Linked DNA regions of Homo sapiens: region 2 is linked to region 1. Evidence: promoter capture Hi-C in human tissues and cell types (Jung and others, 2019). All regions are on one chromosome and are shown on one strand. Each heading gives the region's core, a stretch centred on a gene start or on the middle of the fragment in contact. The rest is flanking DNA. Distances are from core to core; before and after follow the strand shown.

Region 1 (6,301 bases), core at 3,511-6,010:
CTAGAGCTTAAAGTAGCATTCCATTTCTTTACAATTGTTTCCACTGAAATAAAACTACCCATTATATACACATGTGGAGCATAAGCTAAGTCTGCTATGTCAAAATGGAATTCATAGAAACATTAAAACATTTAAAAAACAACTCGTTTTTTCTTTTTCTATAGTTTCCTGCTACTGCTTCCATCCAGAGAAGTCAAGAAGCTAAGACACTATGTGACCCTTAGTTCTGAAGCTTAAAAAAAAGCAGCATTTTTGAGAAAGAGGTGTATGCAAAAGAATCAAACTAAGATTATAGATTTATGTGGGCTATTCTCATTGTAAATTAAGGTATCAATTGCGTGTGGTCTCAATCTACCAGAGGGTATTTAATGTAGCACCAACTAATATCAAGATTGAGTTCCCCAAGGTATAGAGGGCTTTCGATTAATTCCAAGATACTGTTGAATCAAGGGTGTACAAAGAGTCAGATAAATATTAGGCATGCCATCTTCCTTCTCATACATGGTTAAGCATTTCTTTTCTCTTTGCTTCAGAGCAAATTTCTTCATGAGTGTAATTTCATACATTGTGATATCAACCACTCTAGCTCTATAAGGACTGACTAGAATGGACATGTACACTGATTTGTCAGGCAGAGGCTTCCAATGGGCAATTTATCTCCATTTACCAAAAGCAGAGTTTTATAGGTACTAGTATCATCTGAGTAAGTTAGTCCAGTAGCCTTCATAGGCACAGGTCCTTTTATCTTTTATTAAGGTATTTATCTGGAATTTCTGATATGGAGCTATTCTCCATCTGAAACTTTTATTTTCCAAGATATAAAGTTGTGACACCTCTGTTAATTTGGTTATTTGCCACATATACTAAGTGGTGGAGGGAGAAAAGGCTCTGTTTTGGGAAAGAATGGCTTCCTAATCTTAATACCTGAAGCTCTATGAGAAGCTTCCTTAATTTTAGGCCACAGTTAATCCTACAAGATAATCTTATAGCTATAATAAGATAGTTTATTTTGTGCGATTATTATAATGCTAATTGTGACCAGCCAGAAGAACACAATACATAGAATGGAACAAATGTCCTGATGGAAACCTAAATATTTTACTTTTATTGTACTTCACATTTGTGTTTTTATTTTATTTGCAGAGGGTAAAGTTTTCTAGTCTCCACCTTTATATATTTCTGAGCTCTTTAAACCACACCTGTCTCAATGCTGTGAGGAAGTTATTAGAATTTGAGTTATTAAGATTTGAGTTTCCTTCCTACTCCAATCATTGCATCTTCTTTGAGGTAGAGAATCCTACTTTTTTTCTAGTAGTATTGATCCAATAAAAGTTTCCCAAGGCAATTTTGACTATTTTTTGTTGTTTTTGTTTAGCAGGAGAAAAAAATCTTTTACAACTTTTGCATGTACTCAAACCAATTTGAAAACACATTGTGTATGAAAATGTAAGGATTTAAATAATCAGGCTTCTGATACATATGTAAAATACATATGCAAATTAATATTTAAAATTTGCTGACTTCACATAGGACCAAATCATCAGACTAGCCTGGTTATAACCCATAACACATGTAAACCATGTCAAAATTTTTTTCTGATAAAATCTTATAATTTGTCAAGCATTACTCCTATAATTTCACTTTGATTATGCTTGAAATCCTACTCCCTACCCCACAAATGGTCACACTCATTTTCTCATTCTCAGTGTCATCAAAATGCAGCTGTTCTGCCCAAAATGGGAAATGTTGAAGCTACAACCAAGAAAGCTTGCTAAAGTGACTACAAAGACACTGATTGCTTTTTTCTCAGAAAGCAGATTACTTTGCAGTGAGTTTTTCTCCACTATCTCTCTTCCCAAAATGAGTAAGATAGGCATAAATCGTGTTAATGCAGTAGCATCATGAATTGGTATCTCCCCCTCATCTTCCAGGTTGTCATGGTGCTGTTTGCCCATGGTGTAAAGAGATTGTACATTTCCATTAATATTGGAGACTCATGCAAAATGCCAGTGGCTGAGATACTTTTTGGAGGCTTGGGCCAAATGGTTCCAGATGCTTACAAGGCATTATTTGCAAAGTAGATGTAGTCAGTCTAATAAATTGCTGACTGGAGCTACAGTGGGAACCATCTAATTGAATTGGGAGTCTATAATTTATTTATTTTTTTAAACAATAACCAACCTTCTTGTGTCTAGGATTTTTACACTTCTCTTTCTAAACTTGACAGATGCTTCAAGTCCTCAGGCTTCTCCACTGTCCCTTGTGCAGTTGTAATATTTTCCTCTGGTCTGTTTCCACTAATTCTCTAAACTGTCTATGTCCTTCACATAGTCCCTTTCTTTGCTGAGTTGGCTCATGTATGTTGCACTTTCCATAGGAAAACAAAATAATTTCTGCATTTGTGGACCACATTTTCTCATTAATTTGTGTAATTAGTGCTTGACAATATATAAAATAAATGAGAACATTGTCTAAAATGTGAAGAATTAGGAAGAGAGTTAATTTTCACTCTTTCTCTATATTTGTTATTCCACACTACTTGGTTATAAATGCTTGGATGTTAAAATGACTAAAACTACATCATGTAAGCTTTTCAGAATTTCATTATTTTTCGGCTATATTTAGAAAAAAAAATCCAATTCTATGGTACCAAAAGAACTTTAGTATTTCCCAATGATAGTGAAAAATATTATTTTATGTAATAGTTTTTCCAGATATGAAATACTCACATGTCTTGTATTTAAAATATTGCTGAGTAGTTGGAAAAATTAGGATGGAGACACCCCAACAAAATAAGAACATGTCCCAAGTAAAACAAGTCCACCTAAAGTTTTACAGAAAATATTTATTGTGATGAGACTAATAAAATCTTTCTGACATTGAATAGTATTAAAAAATGTTTCTCAAAGAGGTTTATGTCTAATCAGTCAGGAAGAAGCAGTGTCGGCTTTGCTGTTTGTCTGGTAGTTTTGAATTTTGGGGGATACTGTGTCTTTTCTCCTGAGAATGTAAAATTGGGCTCTCACTGCTGACATAAATGTGCTAAGAGACAGTTGTAAAATATTTATGGTATGGAATAGCGGATAAATAGCTAGCATGCACAACTTGAATGCCAATTAATACCCTGGAAAACATTTTCAAAGCTTTAATAATTCAACATGGCTTATTTTACTAATGAAAATCTAGTTTAACCATTTCCATGGTAATGTAACTAAGTGGGTAAGGGAGTAAAAATAGCCTCAGGCTCACTAAAGCCCTGGATGCCTTCACTGTGGCTTTATTTCTGCTCCACCTAATAAGGCATGCAAACTTCAGCATTAAGTATCCCTAACTAAAATCCATTCCATTTTATCACCAGATTGCTTGATCTATTCAGTGCTGGATTCGATTAGCATGCTTAGAGAATCTGAAAAATGAGATACATACCAAAATTTAAGTCCCCAGGGAGAGCTAAGTGCAATAACCAGAAGGTGACTTGTGTCTGTCAGAGCCCTCTCTCACGGTTGATCTCAGGGCAGTTCTGTAGGAGTAATCCAGCACCATAAGAAATAGACTTGTAGTTCAGCTCAGTGTTTCTTCAATTAAAGTGCATTGTGTCTGGATGGGAAAAGTGTCGACTCCCAGATTCTTCATCACTAGATCAGAGCATTCTCGATGTCCTTCCTATCAGATAAAATGGCCTTTAAAGTTTGCTAGGAAGATGCAGTGGCGGAAGACAGGTGCTTGCTTCCTTAAATCGACATTCGGAGAAAAGAGGGCATAGCTAATGGGTGGGGATGAACACACAGCCCCTCTCCTTCCAGGTCCAGCAGGGAAGAAATTGAATGATTTTACCCACTTTGCTACACAGATGATTACAGGACCAGAAGCAATCACCAAGCTGGCTAATGTACCTCATTTGATTATATTCTGCGAAGACAAAAATAAATGAAAACAAAAAATCAGAAACATCCTTTCTAAATGTCTCCTTTCAGCCAAAAAGATGCTCTTTCTCATTGCCACTTACATACAGAAGGTTTGGAGCAGCCCAGCTTGTGGCATAGTCCCTCCCCCGTGACAACCAGCTCTCTCTCTCTCATTCTCTCTCCCTCCACTCCCTCCCTCCCTCCCTGCCCCTGACTCCCTCCCTTCCTGCTTCTCTTTCTCCTCTCCAGCTGCCTTAGTCTGTTGAAGCTGCTGCTGATTAATCAGGGATTCTGAAACAAAGAACCTACCTTCTGAAATAAGCAGTAATCTTTCTTCTCTGTTTCTGCAATCCGTCTGCATTGAACGGCAAGGCTGCCAGCGTTCTAGCACCTTGGATAGTTCCTGCTCACTAGGCCCATTGGAAAAGGGAGAAGCAACTGAAGAAATTGCAAGAAACCGGAAAGCGGCATCGTTCTACTTTGGATTTCGGCTCCCTGGGGGCTCCCATCCTCATTAAAGGCCTCACATCTAGGCAACAGAACCTCTCTCTTTTATCTAACTGAGCTGAAGTCTGATTAGTAAATAATAAAAGGAAAAGAGGGTAAAGAAACACCCTTCATTTATATTCACTATAGCACTAATTCAGTCTTTATGGAGAGGAAAAATATAAATCCATTGAAAACAAATGTTCTTACTACAGAGAATGGTTAAGTTATAAGCATTTCACCCCTGGCGTGGCTAATGAAAATGAACAACAACTTAAATGGAACATCTAGATCTCAGTTTGATACCCTTATTTGATATCAATTTTGCCTCCACCCTCCCTGCACAGCCGAGCCATGCACACAATTACTGCTGACGTACTTCAGGCTGCTGCTTGGGGAGAGAGGGGAGGAGCCTTTTAACCTCATCAAAACAGCTTCATGCCACCTGCTCCCATGGCATGAGAACAAAACTAGTCCACTTAGAAAGAATATGCACAGCACACACGTGTGTGGAACAAAGGTCTTACTCGGACTGCACATTTTTTTAACTAAAATAAGATGCAAAATAATTATGATATGTATGTCATTAATTCCTATAGACTCATTGTTAAAATTAAAGTCATTCTATTTCTGATATTTCCCAAAGACTCTCCTCATTCTGTTCTTAATACTCTACTGAATATATACATATATATCACATTATATACCACAACTTATATATGTGTGTTTGTGTGTATTTGTATTTATTAAGCTCAAAGTTTTTCTCATACTGGCTCCTCCTCAGTAAAAACTAAAATGTACATGTTTTAATCTATTAATTTTGCACTATGATAAAAGGAATAATATATAATATGTTTCTGATGGATATGAGCTTAAAAAGCAATTTTGATGGGAGGGGATGTGCTTATTACTTGATAGTGACCTATAGATTTTTCCCCTCACATTCTTTTTCAGTAACTCACTGTAAATGACCTTCACTTGCAGGTTGGTTTTCCCAAGAGTGTTTTTTAACGTCTATATTCATAACCAAAGTCTTAGAAAATAGTTTTCTGAATTTAGTTTTTAATGCATTGACAGACCACAAAAATAAACAAGTTCACCTGTCTAATTCTTAAATGTCACCTGAGACTGTGCTGTAATTTTCTTAAATTATATTTCTTTAACTTGTAAGTATCTGGGGAAAAATAAAATCAACACATTACATTACTATAAAGCTTTTCTATTTTACATGTCCTGAAGTGCATTCCTGAAGCTCATCACTTATTTCTTGGTCTTTGTGTATCTAGCTTTTGGTTAGAACAGGACATCTGTTTAATTTTAAGAAGGATTCTGCAAGATTAGATAGATGAAAAGGAGGAGAAATACAAACGGGGAAGAGAAGAGGCCAGACCTCTCTCATATTCTCTTCCCCCTATCCCAATGCTCTCCCTTTCCCTCTCTCTCTCTCTCTCTCTGCCTTATGAAGGTTCTAAATACTTAGCACATTGCTGAAAAGTGCCTCAAGCACCACTTATAAACTAGTAACAGCCACCACACTGTGATCAAGAGGTTTACTAATGTGCCATTATTTTGGTAGTGAAGTGTTCTCATAGATGTTGTCTTTCAGCACATGACCAAAGGTGGAAAAAGTTCTTTACAAAAAAAAAATTATTGACAGACATTTTAGAAAACGGAAACACTTTATCATGACTGATAATTTTGCCAGTCTGGGGGTCTATATTTTGAACTATGGAGAGCTTGAATAAGCTCTAGTGTAAAGCCCATTTCTATATGTAAGAAAAATACTACCAAGATAAGTAAACAGACTTACTTGTTTCTGACTTACTTAATTGCCTCATTAGGATTAAGACCCAAGGTCCCTGGGCTGACTGCAGGTCTCCTCATCTTTGGCCAGTACAGTGGTTCTCAGT
Region 2 (6,276 bases), core at 3,530-6,029, 170 kb after region 1:
CAGGATACACTGTCTGCCCCTGAGCACTCATTAGTGAACTCTTTTGGGCACCAAAGGCCCCATACTAAGCGAGGGGTCAGTAATGCAGAGTGAGGGCTTCTCAGTTAAGACCTTAGAACTCATATCTGGCACTCCAGGGCTTTGCAGAGCTTGAGGATGGGGCAGAAAACTGCTTTGCTTTGAGCTACAAAATCTACAAACTAGATGTTGGGGAGAACAACACAAGGACTCAGTGTCCCCAAAACAAAGAAGCTTTATAGATCCAGTAAGCATTAATAAAGCCACCAGACCATTTGCAATAAATCATATTTCACTTTCCCAAACACATGAACTGATCTCTCCCCTCAAGAAAATTCTTTTTGAATTTATACATTATCGAATTTGAATACTTTATTGTCTTATAAAAATCAAAAGAATATATAGTGCATTTCTAAATAAAATACCAAAACTTCCAGAGAAGTTTTGGCATATTACAATATTTTAATTATAGATTTAAAATTTTGTTATTTATTTATCTGAAAATTAAATATAATAGGAGACAAAATAAATGTTTATAGTTTGAAATTGTCTTAAAAAATGATAATCAAATTGTGTTTATGGATATTAAGTGATGGGACATCAGCTTATTATCACATATAGCAAAATATAAATCATATAAATCCCTCCTTGCTGCTTTCCTACATCCCTATATTCCAATTTCAAATTGTACATTTACAATAGGAAAACCAGATCCTATTTATTCACAAACTAGCATTTTCTGTCATCTGATTTCAAACTTTTAATCACTATTCCTCTGCTGAAGAAGCCCTGAGAATATTCCCTCTGTTAGTTCCCTGTTTCTAAAGGCAGGAACGAGGCACTGAATACTATTTGGAACCAGCTGAGTCACCTCCAAGTACCTTCAGGCAGTTGATTCCAGAGGCTTCTAATCATGAAAACCACTGAGGCCACCATGCAACTGTAGCCTGGGAGGTTGCCATGGCAACATGTGAACATGACCCCACAAATGCAGATGCAAGTGTGGTCACATCCAGCACAGTCGACAAAAAGACACCCCACAACACCCAGCTGCACCCAGGGTATAAAATCATCAATATGTGAGCGTGGACAAGACATCGAAGTAGAGCAATATTATATATACACCCGCTTGAGCACTGGTTCCGGTAGCTTGAGATTACATTTGAATCCCCATTTTCTTCCTCGCCCTCAATATCCAACCTTTATTATCAATTTCCATATGGAAAACGTGTCCTTTTATCTCCATCTCTCCATTACCATCACCTTGGACTAGATCATCGCAATCTTTCACTCAGATGAATGCAACAGTCTCTGGTGAATTATCTTCTCTCCTGCAATATTCCATGCTCCTCACGCCACTCCAAGGATGAACTTCACCTAGATGTTACTTTCTAAACACCACTCTCCAGTAAAAGAGCCAGGTTTGGAAGGGGGAAACAAGATGTACCTGGAATCATTATGACAAACAAATAAGGAAGTACCCCAAAACTGATGGGAATACGTTGAAGGAAAAAATGACCCAGGTTAAATGAGCAGCCACTGGCGAAGTAAAGACAATTTGTGCTGCAAAATGAATAATGCAGGGATAGATTTTAAACCATAGATAAAACAAGAATCTATGAGTTCGTACTGAGAATAAATGAGTAAATACCTAAGCAAGTAAACAATTTTAAGTAAGAAATAAGTAAATAAGAATGACAACTAATGTAAAAAGAACGGAAGAGTTATAAAATTCAACCATCGTAATAATAATTGATTCAGGTAAGAATTACCAGTAGTGCTAAATACCACTAAGTAAAGTTTAATAAAAAAACTGCATGTTTACATATTCTCAAAGTATCCCCCGAGAAAGGGAAAAATAATAAACTTTCTAGTGTAGAAACCTAGCAGATTTTTCCACCCTAAACAATTAGTCAAAGTTAATACCACTAATTAATGGGACAAAGTGAATATTATCTAATGTAATGAAGTAAGAGAGTCATAATTTCTGTATTATTCCTGTAAAAGGACATCGCTTCAGTGGTATTCCTGCCAAAAATGCATTACCTGAATGTAATCATGATGGAGCATGGGACAACTTCAAATTAAAGGGCTGTGAGTTTGTACCTCAATTGGCCTATACTCTTCAAAATGTCAGTGTCAGGAAAGACAAAGGCTGAGACCTCTTCCGGACCAAGAAGACAAAGAAATCATGGCAACTAGATGCAGTGTGTGATCCTGGAATGAATCCTGGACCCAGACAATGGAGCTAATTGCGTGTAAAGAATTTACAGAGACAGTTGGAAAATTTATTTATTTTTTTTTTAAGACAGCGTCTCACTCTGTCACCCACACTGGACTGCAGTGGTGCAATCTCAGCTCACTGCACCCTCCACCTCCCGGGTTCAAGCGATTCTCCTGCTCAGCTGGGAGTATGGGCGCCCACCACCATGCCTGGCTAATTTTTGTATTTTTAGTAGAGATGGGGTTTCACCATGTTAGCCAAGCTGATCTCAAATGCCAGACCTCAGGTGATCCACCCGCCTCAGCTTCCCAAAGTGCTGGAATTACAGCTGTGAGCCACCACACCCGGCCTAAATATTCTTTATATATTAGATAGTACAACAATTTTATAATTAATAAATTTGGTGATTGCATTGGAGTTACATAAGAGGAAGTCATTTTTCCTTCGAGATACTGAAATACTTTTGGGTAAAGGGCCATGATGTCTATAACCCACATTCGAATGGCTCAGTAGTAATAACAATAATAATAATAGTTCTTTTCTATATAAAGAGAGGATACATGATAAGTCACAAATTTAGAGTGTAAAGAAATTCATTATACTATTTTTGCAAATTTTCTATTAGTTTTGTTTCAAAATAGTGGAACATTTCAAAACCAATTCTTAAATATATATTTTTTCTGATTGCTTGTCTTAAATCTCTTCAATAGTTTCCCATTTCTGTTATAGTAAAATTAAATTCCTAAAATGTCCCAACCATCACTATAGCCTCACACAGATCAAATCTAATGATCTCATGGGTTTCTGTCATTTCCAAGAAAACGCCATGAGCTTTCACTACTTGCTGATGCTTTCCTTTCCCTATTTGCATATTTGGCTTTCTATCTATCTATCTATCTATCTATTTATCCATCCATCCATCTATCAATCATCTATCTCGTCTTTTCTTTTCTTTATTTTATAAAGCACCCAGATTAATAAAGGACAGCTCCTTACAGAAGTCTTCTCTGCCTTATCCACTCTTATTCCCAGTTTTCTCTATCAATCCTTCACCTACTTCCTTCATAGCACTTTCAAAACTGATATTATTCAATTTCATCACCTGTTTTCTTACTTGTCAGTAACAGTCATTTGAGTTTACCTTGACGCTTCAAAAGTCAGGAAATACAAATACCTTGTCCACTGCACTATTTCCACCCCAGTGCCTTAGCAGAGTAGGGCCACCTGAAAGAATGGATACGCTTAGATGCCTGTTTGCCAACCATTCGTGCAATGACGGGCTAGGCAAATACATGTGGTCTCCCTCCAGTTCCTTTCTACCTCCACCTCTTTAATAGCTCAGTAGTTGCAAGGGGACTTCTCTCTCCCTCCATTTCTCCCTGGCCCCTTACTCCAATGGTCCCCATAGGGTCATTCAGGGAGTTTCCTGCTCTGTACTACAGGTGAGCTTGATACATACAGGTCTAATGCAGCCAACGTGTTCTCTATGTAAACAGAGTGATTCTCCAGCCTCTGTCATTTGAAACTAATGCATCCTGAGTTGTTGATCCATTCCACTTTTGAGTGCCTTTCAGGTTTAAAAAGTTTTTCTCTTAGTTCTCTTTCATTTGTCATTGCACTAACCACAGTTCCTGGCCCACTCAGAACAAACTTAATCCCTTTTCTATATGACAATGTTTCCAATATTTGTAGGTAGCTACATGTCTAAGGTTTCTTTATTTTTTATTCCTAGCTTTTCTCCGTTGGTATTTTCTCCTTTGGTCTAATGAAAAACATCTCTCTCCCTTTTTGAGAAAATAAATGCATGTTTCTTTTGTATTGGAATATTTTCTCAGTGTCTTAGTTGGGGAGGGGAGCATTTTCCTCATGTCTCTGCTGTAAATTAAAGCAAAAATGAATGAAAAGAATATGATACCTGGTTTCATTCTTTTAAGCCAGTCAAATGTGCTGTTTCTAAAAGCACTGAGACTATATTCCCTTTCTGAGCTTTTTTGAAGGTTTTCTTCAGATACATTCTCTCTCAAATTAAGCTTTCTTTTATTGCAATTTAGTGTACATAAAGTAAATGGCCACATCTACGTGAAGAACATTAGCATTTGAGGACTTACTTTATGCCAGTGAGAGGTGACAGCGTGCTGGCAGTCCTCACAGCCCTCACTCGCTCTCGGTGCCTCCTCTGCCTGGGCTCCCACTTTGGCGGCACTTGAGGAGTCCTTCAGCCCACCGCTGCACTATGGGAACCCCTTTCTGGGCTGGCCAAGGCCAGAGCCGGCTCCCTCAGCTTGCAGGGAGGTGTGGAGGGAGAGGCGCGAGCGGGAACCGGGGCTGCGCGCGGCGCTTGCAGGCCAGCTGGAGTTCCGGGAGGGTGTGGGCTTGGCGGGCCCCGCACTCGGAGCAGCAGGCCGGCCCTGCCGGCCCCGGGCAATGAGGGGCTTAGCACCCGGGCCAGCGGCTGCGGAGGGTGTACTGGGTCCCCCAGCAGTGCCGGCCCACCGGCGCTGCGCTCGATTTCTCGCCAGGCCTTAGCTGCCTCCCCTCGGGGCAGGGCTCAGGACTGCAGGCCGCCATGCCTGAGCCTTCCCCCGCCTCCGTGGGTTCCTGTGCAGCCCGAGCCTCCCCGACGAGCGCCCGCCCCCTGCTCCACGGCGCCCAGTCCCATCTACCACCCAAGGGCTGAGGAGTGCGAGCGCATGGCGCGGGACTGGCAGGCAGCTCCACCTGCAGCCCCGATGCGGGATCCACTGGGTGAAGCCAGCTGGGCTCCTGAGTCTGGTGGGGACGTGGAGAATCTTATGTCTACCTCAGGGATTGTAAATGCACCAGTGGGTACTCTGTATCTAGCTGCTCTGGTGGGGCCTTGGAGAACCTTTATGTCTAGCTCAGGGATTGTAAATGCACCAATCGGCACTCTGTGTCTAGCTCAGGGTTTGTGAGTGCACCAATCCACACTCTGTATCTAGCTACTCTGGTGGGGCCTTGCAGAACCTTTGTGTCAACACTCTGTATGTAGTTAATCTAGTGGGGACGTGGAGAACCTTTGTGTCTAGCTCAAGGATTGTAAACGCACCAATCAGCGCCCTGTCAAAACAGACCACTGGGCTCTACCAATCAGCAGGATGTGGGTGGGGCCAGATAAGAGAATAAATGCAGGCTGCTGAGCCAGCAGTGGCAACCCGATGGGGTCCCCTTCCACACTGTGGAAGCTTTGTTCTTTAACTCTTTGCAATAAATCTTGCTACTGGTCACTCTTTGGGTCCACGCTGCTTTTATGAGCTGTAACACTCACCGTGAAGGTCTGTAGCTTCACTCCTGAAGCCAGCGAGACCACGAGCCCACCAGAAGGAACAAACAACTCCAGATGTGCTGCCTTAAGAGCTGTAACACTCAGCACGAAGGTCTGCAGCTTCACTCCTGAGCCAGCGAGACCACGAACCCATCAGAAGGAAGAGACTCCGAACACATCCGAATATGAGAAGGAACAAACTCCAGACGCGCCACCTTAAGAGCTGTAACACTCACCACGAGGGTCCGCGGCTTCATTCTTGAAGTCAGTGAGACCAAGAACCCACCAATTCCGGACACATCAGTGCTTACTTTATGTTACTATGTCATTTGTTTTCCACATTTTACTTATCATCTGGGTATAATTATCCTCATTTTTTACATTAGGAAATGAGGGAGTTAAGTAATTTGTCCTAGGCACACAACTCATAAATGAGTGAGACTGAATTTCTACCTTCATTTTATATCAAGTTGTTCAATGAAACAAAAAGAAGAACTTAAAGAAAAAAACACTGTAAATAAATTAGCCAGATGCTGGTACTAAGATTGCAAAACAGAATAGATATGCAACACACCACTAAAGAAGATTACTAAATGAAATTAAGGAAAAAAAAATCTGAAGCAGTGTTTGATCACAAGTGAAATATTAGTACATACCTTTCTAGTGGTTGGCACAGAAGTGATGTTGGCAATAGGATTTGAAGAACAGAAGTGATATAATAATATAACATTAAAGTGAAAGAGTGAGTAAT

What was found. Contacts are between HindIII fragments. The study calls those that stand out against the background at their distance.
Region 2: a fragment that was not itself captured here is called in contact with the fragment with the promoter of NYAP2 in region 1 in 2 of the 25 tissues and cell types used here (adrenal gland and hippocampus).

The regions. Positions count from the first base shown.
Region 1 is chr2:225,398,169-225,404,469 of GRCh38, reverse strand. NYAP2 (neuronal tyrosine-phosphorylated phosphoinositide-3-kinase adaptor 2) reads right to left here and starts at 4,760. Exons shown (of 8, transcript NM_001371273.1): 1 at 4,215-4,760; 2 at 3,427-3,909. The HindIII fragment of the contact is 4,626 bases long and covers 2,867-6,301 here.
Region 2 is chr2:225,228,098-225,234,373 of GRCh38, reverse strand. No RefSeq gene overlaps it. Among named protein-coding and RNA genes, the nearest start is that of NYAP2, 170 kb to the left of the region's middle. The HindIII fragment of the contact is 5,034 bases long and covers 2,263-6,276 here.